Linked DNA regions of Homo sapiens: region 1 is linked to region 2. Evidence: promoter capture Hi-C in human tissues and cell types (Jung and others, 2019). All regions are on one chromosome and are shown on one strand. Each heading gives the region's core, a stretch centred on a gene start or on the middle of the fragment in contact. The rest is flanking DNA. Distances are from core to core; before and after follow the strand shown.

Region 1 (2,700 bases), core at 2-2,501, 490 kb before region 2:
GAACACTCACAGCTGGATAAAAGTGTTTCTGCCCCAAGTAGAAGAGAGATGCAAAGAGCTCAAGAACCCCCTCACCGGCCCTCTCGGCTTCCTCCTGCTGCTTTTTTCTCTGTAGTTCTCGCAGTTTCCTCCGAAACTCCTCTTGCTGTTGCCGGGCTCTCTCCTGGGCTGCTTTCAACCGGAGCTGCTGCTTTCTCTCCTCCTCCTCCTGCCGCTGCTGTTCTTCTTGGAGTCTCTGTTTCCTCAAGCTGAGAAAACCCAAGATGGTCAGGGAAATGGCAGAAAACACTGAGGCATCCTTGTGAGATGAGCCAACAGACAGTGCCCATGGGGGAGGCTCTGCAGCCCACAGGCCACAGGGAGCAACCTATTCCCAGGAGACTCAGTTTTCCAAGGGAAGCCAGGATTGAAGAGCAAAGAGCCCAGCGGGCTTGAAACCAGAAGCCTAGAAGTTTCAGTACACAGCTCTGTGCTCTGCAGCAGGGGTCTTAAGTTCATTTTTCATGCTTATGGATTTCAAAACTCTTGCCTCACAGGGTTGTGAAGATTAAATTGCAGTTGAGGCCTGTGAAAGGGCCTAGCACAGTGCAGACCACAAAGTGCAGGGGCTTGACAAGTGTTTTCTGGACTGAATCTCAGAGCCTTCCCAAGAAGATCTCAGGGTCATCAATGTGAGTAACCCTCACATGGGGTTCTAAACTTGAAAGAGAGTGACATTCAGCAGAGTGTACCAATGCACATGGTTGAGACGCTACAGTTTATCTCTGGTGAGTGTTGTTCCTAGGAAAACTGAGGATAGAGAAAAATGACACATGCTATTTTAACTTCAGGGCATGAGCCTCAGAACCAAACATTGCCCCTAGGGGAGGTCAACCACTGTCTTTTTCTTCTGCTTCCTAACATGGCTGTAGTCTCTTTGGCTTGCCCAACCTACCGGATCTCTTCTGTACGTCTCTGCTGCTCCAGCTCCAGCTCCTCCTCCATCTTTTTTGCTCTCTCCAGCTGCTCCTGCTGGAGCTGCCTTTGCTCTTCCTGCTCCCTTCTCTTCTTCTCCACCTCCAGCCACCTCATCTCGGCTCTTTCTGCTCGAAGCCTGTCCCAGGAAGCCTTCTCCTGCTCCCTCTTAGTGAGGAGGGCCTAAGAAACCAGAGTGTTCTCAGTGCAATAAACAGATGGGTCTGTCTCAGCAGTGAGCCCTTCTCCACCCCAGACAGTGTTGTCTCTAATCAAAGATGGAATCATAAAACAGACTCCACACTTTGCCCACAGCTGCATAGACTCAGCCACCACCAGCTTGGACTTTTGGGTCTGATTAACCTGGATTCAACTCTCTCTCTTACTTGCTTTGGGATTTAGGGATCACAACTTAAACTTCCCGATATTGTCTTCCTCATGGTACTGTTGCCAGGATTAGCTGAAATAATGAAAGTGCCAACATAATGTCCAGTACATGGTAGGTTCTAGAGTTCTCAACCATGGCTGCACTTTAGAATCACCCAAGGAGCTTTCAAAAATTACTTGTGGCTGGGTGCAGCAGTTCATGCCTGTAATCCCAGCATTTTGGGAGGCTGAAGTGGGAGGATTGCTTGGGCCCAGGGGTTCAAGGTAACAAGTCACCTATGATCATGCCACTGCACTCCTGGGTGGCAAAGCAAGACTCTGCCTCAAAAATATAAAAACAAGGGGCCGGGCATGGCTCATGCCTGTAATCCTAGCACTTTTGGAGGCTGAGGTGGGTAGATCACCTGAGGTCAGGAGTTCCAGGCCAGCATGGCCAACATGGAGACACCCTATCTCTACTAAAAATACAAAATTAGCCAGGTATGGTGGCACGTGGCTGTAATGCCAGCTACTTGGGAGGCTGAGGCAGGAGAATTGCTTGAACCCGGGAGGCAGAGGTTGCGGTGAGCCGAGATTGCGCCATTGCACTCCAGCCTGGGCAAAAAGAGTGAAGCTCCCTCTAAAAAAAAAAAAAAAAAAAAAGAAGCTATTTTACCAGGGGCAATCTTAGGTATAGATGGGTCAGATTCACATTTAATCCCACAGAAACTCACCTTTCCAATGGAAGGTTGTTCTTTCAGTTTATAGGAAGGTTGTCATAGCTTTCTTTTTCTCCCTAGTGCCTCTTCCTCAGAAATATGCCTATGAAGGGAACCTTGAGAGGCAAGCCTTCTAGGAACTCTGTGTATCCAACTCAGAGAAAAAGCTCCTTGCTTTTTAGTCTTTGCAGAGGCAGCATAGTATTATGGATTGACAATAAATCTAAGAAATGCTGATGATCCCGCAGGTTCAGAAAAGTTCGGCCCATAGGTTAAAATTTTCATCTGTTGTGCAGAGCCGAATTGTGTGATCCAGGAAGCTGGGAGGGACTGAGAACTATAAAGGAAAATCTTCCTGGAATCCTTTTTGGAAGACCATGAGCCATAAAATAAGTAAATAGATAATAATTTAAAATGGTGACAAGAGTCCTGAAGTTGGAGTCAAAGGACCTAAGCTTAAGTCTTGGCTCTACCACTCAATGGTTGTGCAATTTCTGGCAACCTGCATTTAACTCTTTCTAGTTTCTATTTCTGGATCTGTAAAATGGGGCTAATCATACCTGGCTCACAAGTGTGGTAAAGGTTAATGTAACATATGTGAGTTTAATTGTAGTGGCTTAGCTGTGTGTGCATTTGTAGTGTTTAAAGCTACTTTTTAATT
Region 2 (2,700 bases), core at 128-2,627:
AAACACATAAATAACCACATTTGCCTGGTAAAGCCAAATTTACAGAATTTCTGACTCTGGGCGGGGGTGGATAATATGTGGAAATGGACAAACAAAAACTTTGAGACAAATTGACCCATTGAGAAGATTTCCAATGATGATAGGCTGTCTCTGTTCTAAGAAAAGCCATGTTACAATTCGTCCTTTTACTGGAGTCTTGAATGAAACTGTTCAGTTACTTTGGATTCTTCCTACTATATGCTTTTCAGATAGCATATTAAAGTTATAAATTTTGAAGTGTATTGGAAGAAAAACCCTAAATCTCCAGGCCAATGTTTGTAAATAGAAGTCCTTGGCACTCCTGCAGCAGTTTACAATGGTCATTCACATGCGTAATGAATGCTTACAGCAGCCCAAGGATGCAGGTGTTATCCCCATTTCCCCCCATTTTTCAGACAAGCAGTGACCAAGATTTGCTCACTGCCAGAGCTGGGACTCCAGCCTAGAACTTCCCTACTCCCTACTTCCCTAGAAGTCCAGTGCTTTTTGCTACTACAGCTGCCAGAGATGTCATTTCATAGCTGGTTATGTATTGAAAGTTCTTAAAAGTGAGTTAAAAATGAAAATCTTATTGAAATCAAGTGCTTTTCACAAAATATGCTGTACTCAAAACACAAATGTATCACATTCCCAACTTGTGTTTTCATCTATGATGGAGAGATAAGGAAAGCCATGTGATTAATATGGGTAGAAGGGCTGAGGACCCTCTGATAATTGCCATTTGGTCTCTACCTTTTGCCTTGCTGTCAGCAATACCTTCCTCTCCTTTCTGCAATATCCCCTTCCAAATGCTCTCCCCACTGAGCACTCCCTGCAGTATTAAGTTTTCAGATAAAGAAGTAGCTCCTATCTGAGACAGAAAGCACTATTTGTTAGGTTCAGAACAGTGGCTTGGGAGGGGATTGACCAGAAGGTACTGTTTTTGATGGGTTTCTATTATTAGCTGAACAGTCTTCAGTTGTTTTCTCACCATAACATGAGAGATTTAATAAGGTTAGTAGGTTATTGGCTTATTTCCGGTCCTGCCACATTTTTTTCTTTCATTAAAAATGCTATCTTCTGTTGTGGAATGTCTGTCATCTTGAACTAATCAACAAAAATACTATGTTTTTCTGCCGTTAACTATGTGTTGGCAATTTGAGAGAAAATACTAGAATGTAGGTTTGAAAATGATACAAATTAGACTTCAAGGAATACTTAAGAAGATTTGTGGCAGGAAAGGCTTGTGAGTAATTTAGTTGTTAGGCTGGGTTAGGCATCTGTGGATTACATCAAAGAGGATGTGCAGAGATTTTATCGGGAGCAGTGAGGTGACTTTGGCAGCTAACAGGCCACTAGTATCCTACTAAAGCTTTTGTCTGGATAGGAGCAACATGCATGTTTACAGTCTTGCAGGTAAGAGACCTTGGCAAATAATCCTCAGTTACCAGAAGATGTATCCATAACTGCCTAGCTTGCCTGTCAGTTTTTAATAGCTAAAGATATAAATCTGGGTAATCTAACTCAAATGGCTTAGTTTCATTTTAACTCAAATGATATGGGGAATTTTATGATCTTGAAAGAGCAGGTTTTGCTTCGAGAAGCCATTTCTTCAGTATGGAATAATGAGTTGTCAGGAAGATTGAGTACAATGGGCATTTGCCCTGGTCCTAATCAACAGCATTTGGACCCAGAGGAAGCCAGCTATTTTTGTAAGGGCCATTTCTCATCATTAAGTTTCCAAGTGCTTTTTTAGGGTTTGTCTAGTAAAAAGCACTATTTTGAAAAACAAGCATAGTAAGGGTAGGGGGTTGTGGCATTTAATAGTACGTTTTAAAAAGCTAATGGAAATACTTTTAAAACAAGATTTAGGACAAATTCCTTAGGCATCAGTCACACTAATGCATCTTCTGAGTCAAGAACTGGCTATCCTTTCTGTGTACTCAGTCCGGAATTGCATGTGGTGGGTGCTTACTTATTTGCAGTCTCAATCAAGAATTCTCACTCTCAAGATAGCAGAAATAGATAAGCTTCAACTGACAAATTTGGTACAGAAGTCATGGAAAGGAAGGTAAGTCTTTTGCCAGGCATCATGCCAGGCATCAGCATCTTTCAGGACTAAGGAAACAAAAGAGGAAAACTCGATTTTACTACATGTTAACTCTACTGAATACCTCCTTGAATGTCAGATTCCTTATCTGTAAAACAAAGGTTTTGCATTTGATTATCTCTAAGATCCGCTTCTGCCCCCAGTTTTAAAGTTTGATAGGGAAAGAGGTTTAAGTCAGGATACCAGGCCAGGGAGGAAAGGAAGGGAGGGCACAGGCCTCTGGAGTTCAGCTGCCTCCCCCATTAGGATTGAAGTCCCAGCTGCTGGCTACTGCCTTGAGGGAGGTATCAGCCTTTTACTTCTGGATCTTGGCCTCTCCTTGTTCTACCCCTTCCCAACAACAACTGAACATACCAAGTGCTTGCTATGGCCCAAGCACTGTTGCAGGTGAAGCTGCAGCATGAACAAGATAAGCAACATCTCTGCTCCCCAGGCCCTCTGCAGACATGACACCTGCGGGAGACAGACACTGAGCAAGCCAGTGGATACAAGAACTGGGAAAATGAGAAGTGCTATGAGGGCAAGAAGTTGCAACTGTTTTCTTAGCTACCTGGAGGGAGGGAAAATCATTT

Evidence for each region. The method cuts DNA at HindIII sites, captures the fragments that hold promoters and counts their contacts. A contact is called where the count stands out against the background at its distance.
Region 1: a contact is called between a fragment that was not itself captured here and the fragment with the promoter of MPP4 in region 2, in 1 of the 25 tissues and cell types used here (mesendoderm cells).

What each region holds. Positions count from the first base shown.
Region 1 is chr2:202,191,738-202,194,437 of GRCh38, reverse strand. KIAA2012 reads right to left here. Exons shown (of 24, transcript NM_001277372.4): 20 at 935-1,137; 21 at 76-248. Among named protein-coding and RNA genes, the nearest start is that of SUMO1, 46 kb to the left of the region's middle. The HindIII fragment of the contact is 7,310 bases long and covers 1-2,700 here.
Region 2 is chr2:201,697,321-201,700,020 of GRCh38, reverse strand. MPP4 (MAGUK p55 scaffold protein 4) reads left to right here and starts at 1,377. Exons shown (of 22, transcript NM_033066.3): 1 at 1,377-1,434. RefSeq lists enhancers at 1-245, 246-747. The HindIII fragment of the contact is 2,902 bases long and covers 1-1,719 here.